Linked DNA regions of Homo sapiens: regions 1 and 3 are each linked to region 2. Evidence: promoter capture Hi-C in human tissues and cell types (Jung and others, 2019). All regions are on one chromosome and are shown on one strand. Each heading gives the region's core, a stretch centred on a gene start or on the middle of the fragment in contact. The rest is flanking DNA. Distances are from core to core; before and after follow the strand shown.

Region 1 (4,002 bases), core at 623-3,122, 740 kb before region 2:
CGAAAAAAAAAAAATACACTTCAGTTTACTCATGAATCAAGACATCAAGAGAAAGAGAAAAGTTTTACTAACTGATTTAATGAGAAAACACAACCTTTTAAACTTTTGACCACTGCTTAAAGAGTACTTACAGAATTATCTCACTTCCAAGACTTCTTGGAAAAGTAGTTAAGTTACAATTCATAGTCCAGAGATGTACTTGAAGAATGAGCCAGTGATAAAAAATTTTTAACTTTTTTTTGGTGTGTGGGATGGAGTCTTGCTCTGTTGCCCAGGCTGGAGTGTAGTGGCACAATCTCAGCTCACTGCAGCCTCCACCTCCCAGGTTCAAATGATTCTCCTGCTTCAGCCTCCCAAGTAGCTGGAATTACAGGTGCATGCCACCACGCTCAGGTAATTTTTGTATTTTTAGTAGAGATGGGGTTTCACCGTCTTGGCCAGGCTGGTCTCGAACTCCTGACCTCAGGTGATCTGCCTGCCTTGGCCTCCCAAAGTGCTGGGATTACAGGCATGAGCCACCATGCCTTGCCTTAACTTTTATATCGTGTGTGATGAATTTATATCATGGTGTGAATTTTCTGGAGCATTTTACAGGCAGAGATTGCTTAATCATGGGTATATGTTCTGAGAAACGTGTTGTAGGTGATTTCCTCATGGTACAAACATCACAAAGTGAACTTACACAAATCTAGATGGTATAGCTACAACACATCTAGACTATATGGTACAGTCTATTGCTACTAGGCTATAAACCATACAACATGTTGTTGTACTGAACACTGTAGGAAATTGTAACAAAATGTTAAGTATTTATGAGTCTAAACACAGAAAATACACAGAGTAAACATGCAGTATAAAAGATAAAAAAGGATGCACCTGCATAGGACACTCCATGAACATAGCTTGCAGGACTAGAAGTTGCTCTGGGTGAGTCAGTTGAGTGGTGAGTGAATGCGAAGGCCCAGGATGTTACTGTACACTAATGGAGAATTTATAAACACTGTACACTTGGACTACACTACATTCATAAAAACATTTTTTCCTCAATAATGAATAAACCTTAACTTACTGTACATTATTTTCTTTATAAACTTATTTTTAAAAACTTTGTAATAATTTAGCTTAAAACACATTGTACAGCTGTACAAAAATATTTTATGTCCATATTCTATAAGCTTTTTCTATTAAATTTTTTTAAACTATTTTTGTTAAAGACTAACTAAGACACAAACACACATTAGTGTAGGACTACACGGGGTGAGGATCATCAATATCATTGTCTTCTGCCTCCATGTTTTGTCCCGCCAGAATACGTTCAGGGGCAGTCCTGCACATGGAGCCGTCATCGCCTATCATAACAAAGTTTTTCCGGGAATATCTCCTTAAGGACCTGCCTGAGACTGTCTTACTGTTAAAAAAACACAGGAATACATTCTAAAACAGGATTGTAAATATATAAACCAGTAACTTAGCCATTTATTATCAAGTATATATTGCACATCTGTGCTGTAATTTTTTTTTTTTCGAGACGGAGTCTCGCTCTGTCACCCAGGCTGGAGTGTAGTGGTAGATCTCAGCTCACTGCAATCTCCACCTCCCGGGTTCAAGCGATTCTCCTGCTTTGGCCTCCCAAGTAGCTGGGACTACAGGCACACCAGAACGCCCAGCTAATTTTCGTATTTCTAATGGAGACAGGGTTTCATCATGTTGACCAGGCTGGTCTTGAACTCCTGACCTCAACTGATTCTCCCACCTCAGCCTCCCAAAGTGCTGGGATTACAGGTATGAGCCACTGTGCCCAGCCAATTTTTTTTTTTTTTTTTTGATACAGTCTCACTGTCACCCATGCTGGACTGCCATCACGTGATCTTGGTTCACTGTAGCCTTGAACTCCTGGGCTCAGGCAATCCTCCTGCCTCAGCCTCCCATGTAGATGGGACTACAGGGTGTGCTACCACACTTAGAAAATGTTTTTATTTTTTGTAGAGACAGGGTCTCACTAGGTTGACCAGAGTAGTCCTGGCATCAAGCAATCCTACTGCCTTAGTCTCCCAGTGTTGGGATCACAGGTGTGACCATGCCCAGCTGTGTTGTACTTTTTTTTTTTTTTTTTTTTTGAGACAGAGTCTCGCTCTGTTGGCCGGATCTCAGCTCACTGTCAGCTCGGCCTCCTGGGTTTATGCCATTCTCCTGCCTCAGCCTCCCAAGTAGCTGGGACTACAGGCGCCCACCACCACGCCCGGCTAATTGTTTGTATTTTTAGTAGAGATGGGGTTTTACCGTGTTAGCCAGGATGGTCTTGATCTCCTGGCCTCGTGATCCGCCCGCCTTGGCCTCCCAAAGTGCTGGGATTACAGGCGTGAGCCACCGTCCCCGGCCGCTGTCTTGTACTTTTATACAACTGAAAGTGCAGCACGTTTACACCAGCACCATAAACACTTAAATAATGTGCTGCACTATGGTGTTACTACTGCTACTAAATTGCGGTTGATAGAAATGTTTTAGGTGTTATATAATCTTATGGGGCTACCAACCTATATGGTCCATTGCTGACTGAAACATGATTATGTGGTACCTGACTATACATGAATCATCTTGTATCTCGCTTTCTATATTACTTACATTGACAGGATTTCTCTCTTCAGTGGGAATTTTCACAACTTTGAAAGCATCTGTTAGAATTGAAAACTTTCTCCTATTTCTCACATTTATAGAGTTTCTATCGATTGTGCATTCTCATATGTTTTTTTAAGGATGTGGACACACTGAAGGCTTTTCCACATTGCTTACATTCAAGAGGTTTCTCATAATTGTGAATTCTTGTATGTCTTTGAAAGGAACTGTGAAGACTAAAGGCCTTCCCACATTCTTTACATTTATAGGGTTTCTCTCCAGTATGCATTCTCATGTGTCCTTGAAAGCTTGTGGGATAAATAAAGGCCTTCCCGCATTCCTTACATTCATAAGGTTTCTCCCCAGTGTGAGTTCTTTTATGTATCCGAATGTAACTAGAACAACTAAAGGCTTTTCCACATTGTTTACATTCATAGGGTTTCTCTCCAGTGTGAGTTCTTTCATGTGTTCGTAACGCACTAGGAAAAATGAACACCTTCCCACAGTCCCTACATTTATAAGGTCCGTCTCCAGTGTGGGTGATCATGTGTCTTCGAAAGTTCTCAAGAGAAATGAAGGTTTTTGCACATTCCTTACACTCATAGGGTTTTTCTCCAGTGTGATTTCTCTTGTGGATTTTCAAATCTAGAGGATAATTGAAAGTTTTCCCACATTTTTTACATTCGTAGGGTTTCTCTCCAGTGTGAGTCCTTTCATGTATTCGAAAGTAACTGATTCTACTAAAGGCTTTCCCACATTCTTTACACTTATAGGGTTTCTCTCCAGTATGCACTCTCACGTGTACTCGAAAGGCTGGGCGTGCACTGAAAGATTTCCCACATTCTTTACATTTATAGGGCTTCTCTCCAGTATGAATTCTTTCATGAATTTGAATGGAGGTGGAACATCTGAAGGCTTTACCACATTGTTTACATTTATAGGGTTTCTCTCCAGTGTGAATTCTTTCATGTACTCGTAAAAAACTGGGAAAAATGAATGCCTTTCCACATTCTTTGCATTTATAAGGTCTATCTCCGTTGTGTGTTATCATGTGTGTTAGAACACTTGTGTGGGAAATGAAGGCTTTCCCACATTCCTTACATGCATAGGGTTTCTCTCCAGTGTGAGTTCTTTCGTGTACTCGAATAGAACTGGAACAACTGAAGGCTTTCCCACATTGTTTACATTCATAGGGCTTTTCTCCAGTGTGAATCCTTTCATGAACTCGAAGCGAACTGGAACAACTAAGAGCTTTTCCACATTGCTTACATTCATAGGGTTTTTCTCCAATGTGAGTCCGCTCATGTCTTTGAAAGGGCTGGTGATATATGAAGGTTTTTCCACATTGTTTACATTTATAGGGTTTTTCTCCAGTGTGACTCCTTTCAT
Region 2 (3,812 bases), core at 326-2,825:
CTTATACCCTCTCCCTTTAGGAGTTTACATGCAGCAACTGACGCACATTCATGTAAAAACAGACATTATCTGACTGGAAAAACAGACTCCTTGTGGCAAGAAGATACCAAATTACAAACAAGACCTAAGGCCACGCAAGACAAGGGTAAGTCACACCTTAGAATTCATAAAATCTAGAGAAACAGGTCTGTTTTTTGGCTGGGATGGAATCAAGTGGCAGATAACAGACCCCCTTCCTTCAGCATTCCTTCCTACCTCCTCCAAACTTTAGACAAAGCTTCACACTCTCAACCAGCTGCCACCTACAGAATCCCTCAACCACCTGTGCCTTCTAACCCCCCTTCCACAGGTCCCGCCCTTTCTGTTTTTTGTTTTTGTTTTTGTTTTGAGACAGAGTCGCACTCTGTGCTGAGGCTGGAGTGCAGTGGCACTGTGTGGGCTCACTGCAACCTGTCTCCTGGATTCAAGTAATTCTCTTGTCTCAGCCTCCCGAGTAGCTGGGATTACAGGCGTCCACCATCACGCCCGGCTAGTTTCTTTTTTATATTTTTAGTAGAGACGGGGTTTCACCATGTTGGCCAGGCTGGTCTTGAACTCCTGACCTCAGGTGATCCGCCCGCCTTGGCCTCCCAAAGTGCTGGAATTACAAGCGTGAGCCACCGTGCCCGGCCAGGTCCCTCCCTTTCTGCCTAAGGAAATTACACCTTCCAGGCACTAATTCATGATTTTCCCTGCAATTCCTGTCTCTCTAAAATGAATAAAACCAAACTGTCTTGAGCCGCCTCGGGACCACTTACTCCAGGCTTCTTGGGGTTGTTTTTCCCTCGGCCAAGGTCTCTCCTATTCGGCTCCGAATAAACTTCTTTATTTTACATAGTTTGGCTTTTTCCGTTGACAAACCACAAGCCAGGACTGGGTGTGTCTCATTCGTGAATCGCTGTTTGCTCAAATGAACTCTTTGTTAACGTTCCTCAGTTTAATTTTTAACAGGAGAAAAAGTGGACACTGGGGGCCCCACAGACCGCTGCTCCTCCCAAGCACGAACCCCACACCCGAGTCGGGATCACCCACATGACCCTCCCGTGGCCCCCGCACAATCTGGGTAGACGCGTGGCTGCGGGCGCGGAGCTGCCCATAGAGGGCTCTGGAACCGCAGTCGCCGCGCAGAGACGAGACAGGACGCCTGGTGTCCCGGCTACCGGCCCAGCCACACCGAGCAGTCGAGGGGACCGAGGGCCGAGCGGCTCCAGGAGGACTCGGTCCCAGATCCCAAAGTCGCCCGCAGGAAAGCCAGGGTCTCGCCACAGTCGGTTCCGGTCGGTCCAGGCAGCCCCTCCCCCGTCTCACGACACCCGGCCCCAGACACGCACCATTTCCTGGCTTTCAGATGTCCCGGGGTCCTCTCTACACCTCCTGTGACTACAGCAGGGCATAGCGTAGGTGACAGAGTGACAGAAGCCTGGGCAGAGGAACCAGGTCCCTCTCGGGGCTGGAAAGACCGGATCCCAGCCGCAGCCCGCGCAGGGACAAAGGTGAGGTAAGGAATGCGACCCCCTCAGTGTCTGGAGGAACAGTGGGCAGGGACCCGCCACAATGCCTCTGATTGGATGGAATGCTAGGCCCCGCCCCCCATGTCTGAGTGACAGCGGAAGCCCTGGGTATCGGGCCCTGCAGAGCCAGACAGACGGATTCTGACCACAGCTTTTCCAAGGGCGAGCTCCTTCCTGCACTCTGGTTATTGGATATTTGCATTTCAGCCAAACTTGCTATTGATAGAGGAGAACACTAGCGTCTTCCTCACTCAAGGGACTGTCCCTGCTCCTTCGTTCTGCATGGGGTCACAGGAGTGTGCAGGGAATTTCAGATTCAGTGTCCACAGGAGCCATCTCCTGCCTCAGAGCAGCAGGGGAACCGAGACCAGGCCAGACACGACTGCGCCAGGAGGAGAGGCATATGTCTTGGAGCGGGCCGCAACTGGGGATGAGGCATGGCTAAGACTTGCTCTCACACCCCCATCCCCTCCTCACAGTGTGAAAATGCTTCCTCCTTCCAGATCTTCATTTTCACCAGCAGGAAACTCTCTCCAGGGGTTAAGTTAAGCTTTTGACCTAAATAAACTGCCAACTTCATGAACCCTTTATCCAGGTGACGCTCCCAAACATTTCTGTCTCTAGCCTGATCTTCACACATTTTCTTTTCTTTTTTTTTTGAGACAGAGCCTCGCTCTGTCCCCCCAGGCTGGAGTGCAGTGGTGCAATCTCCACTCACTGCAACCTCCGCCTCCTGGGTTCAAGTGATTCTCCTGCCTCAGCCTCCCCAGCAGCTAGGATTACAGGCACATGCCACCGCGCCTGGCTAATTTTTTGTATTTTTAGTAGAGACAAGGTTTCACCATGTTGACCAGACTGGTCTTGAACTCCTGACCTCAAGTGATCCACCCGCCTCGGCCACCCAAAGTGCTGGGATTACAGGCGTGAGCCACCGCGCCTGGCCCACATTTTCTTTATATATATGAATATCTCTGTCGGATATAAAATGCTTTAGGAATAAATTCTTGGTCCCACGAAGTAAAACTAGCACTTAGGGGAAAGTTTCATTTGTTTAGCAAGGCAATTTACTTCTGCAGAAGTGTGCCACTTGTGTCAATCAAGATCACAAGAGCACAGAGAACAAAGGTCACCGGGGGTTTTTTTATCCTTAATGCGGTCCCTATCTCTGTGTCACTCCTTCATGGGCTGGGGTTCGACCACACAATCTGAGCTGACCCGACTGGCTACTTGTACGTATTTTTCTAAATATAGAAGGAGAGGGGAACGTGAGGTACAGAGATGGAGCGTGTGAGACGTGCAGTTTCGGGGGAACAATGGGTACAGGTAACCAAGGGAACAGATGTGAGTTATTGATTAGAGCTGACGGGAAGGGGGTAGGCTGTTTTACAGTAACTAGGGGCAAGGAGGAACAGGAAAGTTGAGCTGGAGAACAAAAGACAAGGAAGTTAGCAGGCTAAGTCTTTGAAGAGAAACTCAGAGAGGCCAGGCGCGGTGGCTCACGCCTGTAATCGCAGCACTTTGGGAGGCTGAGGCGGGTAGATCACGAGGTCAGGAGATCGAGACCATCCTGGCTAACATGGTGAAACCCCGTCTCTACTAAAAAATACGAAAAATTAGCCAGTCGTGGTGGTGGGCGCCTGTAGTCCCAGCTACTCGGGAGGCTGAGGCAGGAGAATGGCATGAACCCAGGAGGCAGAGCTTGCAGTGAGCCGAGATCACGCCACTGCACTCCAGCCTGGGTGACAGAGTGAGACTCCGTCTCAAAAAAAAAAAAAAAAAGAAACTCAGAGAAATTTACTGTATGTTACAATTCCTCCCTTTTAATTTTCTTATGATTTTTTCTCTTTAAACTTTTTTAACGTGTTTTGGCTTTGCTGTTTGATTTGATCTTTTAAAAGGAAAAGCTTACTTGAATAAGGTGGAGGAGAACTAAGGGAGGTTTCAGTAAATGCTGTTCGTACAATCCTTTGTATTAGCCTACGGATGCATGGTATGACACAACGCCTAACAAGAATAAGTACACCTGTTACGACTGTAAAAGAAATAAGTATTGAGGCTATGATTCTTTATTGACTGAACTACTTTCCTAGCCATCTTGAAATAGGGTCATTGACTCCAGAAATTTTAGCTAATTCATTGGATAAAGCGGTAAGTCTTTGCAAGGCCTTTGTTATGCTCTCACTGGGGGCAGTGTTGTTTGGAATGAAGGTACAACACTGGGTTTTAATCATAACACAAACTCCACCTTTTTTGGCTAATAAC
Region 3 (3,791 bases), core at 108-2,607, 610 kb before region 2:
AGGATGCACAAGGAATTACCAAAAGTTTTTACGAAGGGCGGGGTGGCTGGAGCAAGAATCCTGGAATGAACCAGGATATGCTTGACAGTGAGTCTTATGTTAGATTTTCCTGTCTCATAGATTTTTTTTTTTAACCTTCACATGTATTATCTCTCTAAAATGAATGGAGGCCTGGTGCAGTGGCTCACACTTGTAATCCCAGCACTTTGGGAGGCCGAGCTAGGAGGATCACTTGAACTCAAGAGTTCAAGACCAGCCCGGGCAACCCTGCCGGTTGGTGAAACCCTGCCTCTACAAAAAATACAAAAATTAGCCAGGCATGGTGGTATGTGCCTGTAGTTCCAGCTACTCAGGAGGCTGAGTTGGGAGGATCACTTGAGCAGGGGAGGCTGAGGCTGCAGTGAGCTATGATCGATCGTGCCACTGTACTCCATCCTGGGTGACAGAGCAAGACCCTGTCTAAAAATATACATTAAAAAGGCCGGGCACGGTGGCTCACGCCTGTAATCCCAGCACTTTGGGAGGCCGAGGCAGGCAGATCACCTGAGGTCAGGAGTTCGAGACCAGCCTGACCAACATGGAGAAACCCCATCTCTACTAAAAATACAAAAAGATTAGCTGGGCATGGTGGCACATGCCTGTAATCCCAGCTACTCGGGAGGCTGAGGCAGGAGAATCACTTGAACCTGGGAGGTGGAGGTTGCTGTGAGCCAAGATTGTGCCATTGCACTCCAGCCTGGGCAACAAGAGTAAAACTCCGTCTCAAAAAAAATAAAAAATAAAAAAATAAAATGAACGAAGATATTTATCTGCACTATATTTTACTATTAAAGTCTTTAAATAATGTAGTTTTTTTTAAATTTTAAGTTGTCTTCATTAAGATTTAATCCTTTATACACTTTTAAAAGTGTAAACTATACGAAATGTAAAATTTCAAATCTTAAGAGAATCTGCATCATAGCATGTCTGTCCACTGTATCTCACACTGAGGGGTATTTTCAGGAAAGAGTAGCATATTATAGATTGGGCGCGGTGGCTCACGCCTGTAATCCCAGCACTTTGGGAGGCCGAGGCGGGCGGATCGCGAGGTCAGGAGATCGAGACCATCCTGGCTAACATGGTGAAACCCCAGCTCTACTAAAAATACAAAAAAATTAGCCAGGCGTGGTGATGGGCACCTGTAGTCCCAGCTACTCGGGAGGCTGAGGCAGGAGAATGGCGTGAACCCGGGAGGTGGAGCTTGCAGTGAGCCGAGATGGCGCCACTGCACTCCAGCCTGGGCAACAGAGCAAGACTCAGTCTCAAAAAAAGAGTAGCATATTATAATACATTAGGGTTTGGATATAACCATTAAATGTAGTAGAATTTTTCAAAGATTACACAAGCTTTGAGGAGTAGTTTTCCTCGTATCAATTAAAACAGGAATCCATTTGCCCTGGGAATAGTAGAGCCTTTGAAGTTTGAAAGTTTTCTAGGGATATGCACACACACAAACTAATGTAAAAATAAAAATGCACCTGAGAAGTTAAACATATCCATCTCACACCATGAGCTTCTTTTGCCTGAAAGGAATAAAAATTCTATTTGGTTCCAGGATTTGCTTCTCTTACATCATATTTCTCAATCAACTTAAATTTTCAAAGACCAACAAACTAAAAATCCTACAGACTCATACAGGGAATAAAATTACAAAATGTTAAAGGAAACTGGAGTTAAAGTGCTGCAATATTCAATAGAAAAAGGAATCCAAAGGAAAGAAACACAAACATTGAATCAGCTCAGATAAGCAGCCTGCTTCTCCGCAATTCAGAAGAAAAACCAACATCCAGAAGGTTAAACACATACCAAAGCTTGGAGTCCACACTCTCTCCCTGTTAGGGTATAGTCCCTAGAGTGGAATAGTCCCTGGTGACAGCAGGGACACCTGAGCAGCCACAGGAATGAACTCCGGGAGCAGAGAATGCCCCTTCCCACTGGTTCTCGTAAGTGACGAAACTGTCAGCTGGATTCAGATGAAGGTTCTGACACAAATGAACTCCCAAAGTCATTAACACCATGTCCAGGAGACAGAACTTGTAACTTTCACAGACTTTTTCAATATGGAAAAATTACACCACGAGTGTACCCTAATGTGAAAGCAAAACTCAAACCTAATGTCTAAAAGTAGACCCAAGGAAACTACAATTACAACCTAGACAATTAAAACCCTCCCGGTTCTCCTAAAACCGCGTGCGGTTCCCAGCATTCCAGTGCTCTGTAGCTTCTCTCTGTATAAAGAGCTCTTTCCTTGGTGGGTGAGAGCAAGTAGGACACTTTTGGGGAAGGCTCCCCAGGAAGACCCATCTGGGCTTTCAATGACCTCCCTTTGCAGGCTCAAGAGTGGTCTTAGCTTGAAGTCACTAGTCTCTGGCTGCTGCTCCCCAGTCATGGGGCTTTCAACCGCTATTGATGTTTATTTTTTTGAGACAGGGTCTCCCTCTGTCACCCAGGCTGTAGCGCAGTGGCGAGATCATAGCTCACCGCAGCCTCGACCTCCAGGGCTTGGGCTTAAGTGAGCCTCCCACCTCAGCCCCCTGAGTAGCTGGGACTACAAGCACAGGCCATCATGCAGCTAATTTTTGTATTTTTAGTAGAGACGAGGGTTTCACCATGTTCGCCAGGCTGGTCTCGAACTCCTGACCTCAAATGATCCACCCACCTCGGCCTCCCAAAGTGCTGGGATTACAGGCGTGAGCCATCACGCCCAGTTGAAAGACGGGAACTTTCAAAGTTGCTTTTCTGGTAAAAGTTAAAGCAGAGGGGACTTTCTTTATCATGTTGGCTAAAACTGGCCTGTTGGGGATTTGACCAGCATCTCTTTCTCTCCTGATAATTTGTAAGGTCAGATAAACAACTTAGTTTCAGCTTGGTAGCGAGGAACGTCCCCGTGGGTAACTCATTTTGGTTTGGTCTGTTGGGTCTAGTGCAGGAGCTCAGTCTAAACCAATGGCTTCCTACAAATTGTATTTAACAGGGCAAATAATAATATTATGAATTGGAGAGGGAAAGCTTCATTTGGAATGAAAGAAGGAATTGGCAAATTTAGGGATTTCCTGTCAGTCCTAGGAAGAGCTAGGCTGGAAAACGGGGTCGTGGATTTGAGATCCTGTTTTCACACGTTTGTAAAATTAAGGGGCAAACCGGTCCCCCTGGGGAAAAAGAAGAGACTGGGGACCCCACGGACCACCGCTCCTCCCACGCACGAACGCCACACTCGAGCCGGGATTCCTTCTCTCCTATGACCCTCCCGTGATCCCCACACAATCTTGGAAGACGCGGGGCTACGGGCATGGAGCTGCCCACACAGGGCTCCGGGACCCGGGCCTCAGTAGCCGCGCGGGGACAGGACAGGACTCCCGGGATCCTGGCTGCCGGCCCAGCTTCACTCTGCGGCGGGAGGAGGCCGAGGGCCGAGCTACGCCAGGGGGACTCGGGTTCACAGACCCAGGAGTGGCCGCGGGCAGGCCCGGTTCCCGCGACAGCCGGTTCCGGCCAGCAGCTCTTCAGGTCTCGGGATTCCAGGCCCCGCACAGTCACCATTTCCGGGCTTCCGCGGTGTCCCCACCCCCTAACTACGACTCCCTCTGCCAGTGCGGGTCCCAGAGCGACAGAGGCTGCGGCAGAGCCACCTAGCGACGTTCGAGGCAGGAGAGACACAAACTGGAAATCGCGCCACCGTATCCACGCGCCTTTGTACAGGGCGGCCCCACCCACCGCTCCGGCGGCGTCTCCAATTGGACAGTTTGTGAGGT

The links. The method cuts DNA at HindIII sites, captures the fragments that hold promoters and counts their contacts. A contact is called where the count stands out against the background at its distance.
Region 1: a contact is called between a fragment that was not itself captured here and the fragment with the promoter of ZNF69 in region 2, in 1 of the 25 tissues and cell types used here (dorsolateral prefrontal cortex).
Region 3: a contact is called between a fragment that was not itself captured here and the fragment with the promoter of ZNF69 in region 2, in 3 of the 25 tissues and cell types used here (bladder, hippocampus and mesendoderm cells).

What each region holds. Positions count from the first base shown.
Region 1 is chr19:12,627,978-12,631,979 of GRCh38, reverse strand. ZNF791 (zinc finger protein 791) reads right to left here. Exons shown (of 4, transcript NM_153358.3): 4 at 1-4,002. The coding sequence ends at 2,720. Among named protein-coding and RNA genes, the nearest start is that of ZNF791, 19 kb to the right of the region's middle. The HindIII fragment of the contact is 6,065 bases long and covers 1-4,002 here.
Region 2 is chr19:11,885,545-11,889,356 of GRCh38, reverse strand. ZNF69 (zinc finger protein 69) reads right to left here and starts at 1,575. Exons shown (of 4, transcript NM_001364730.1): 1 at 1,371-1,575. The coding sequence starts at 1,433. RefSeq lists an enhancer at 1,329-1,378. The HindIII fragment of the contact is 10,336 bases long and covers 1-2,777 here.
Region 3 is chr19:12,495,344-12,499,134 of GRCh38, reverse strand. No RefSeq gene overlaps it. Among named protein-coding and RNA genes, the nearest start is that of ZNF709, 12 kb to the right of the region's middle. RefSeq lists enhancers at 3,512-3,591, 2,853-3,732, 3,733-3,791 and a silencer at 3,782-3,791. The HindIII fragment of the contact is 4,297 bases long and covers 1-3,505 here.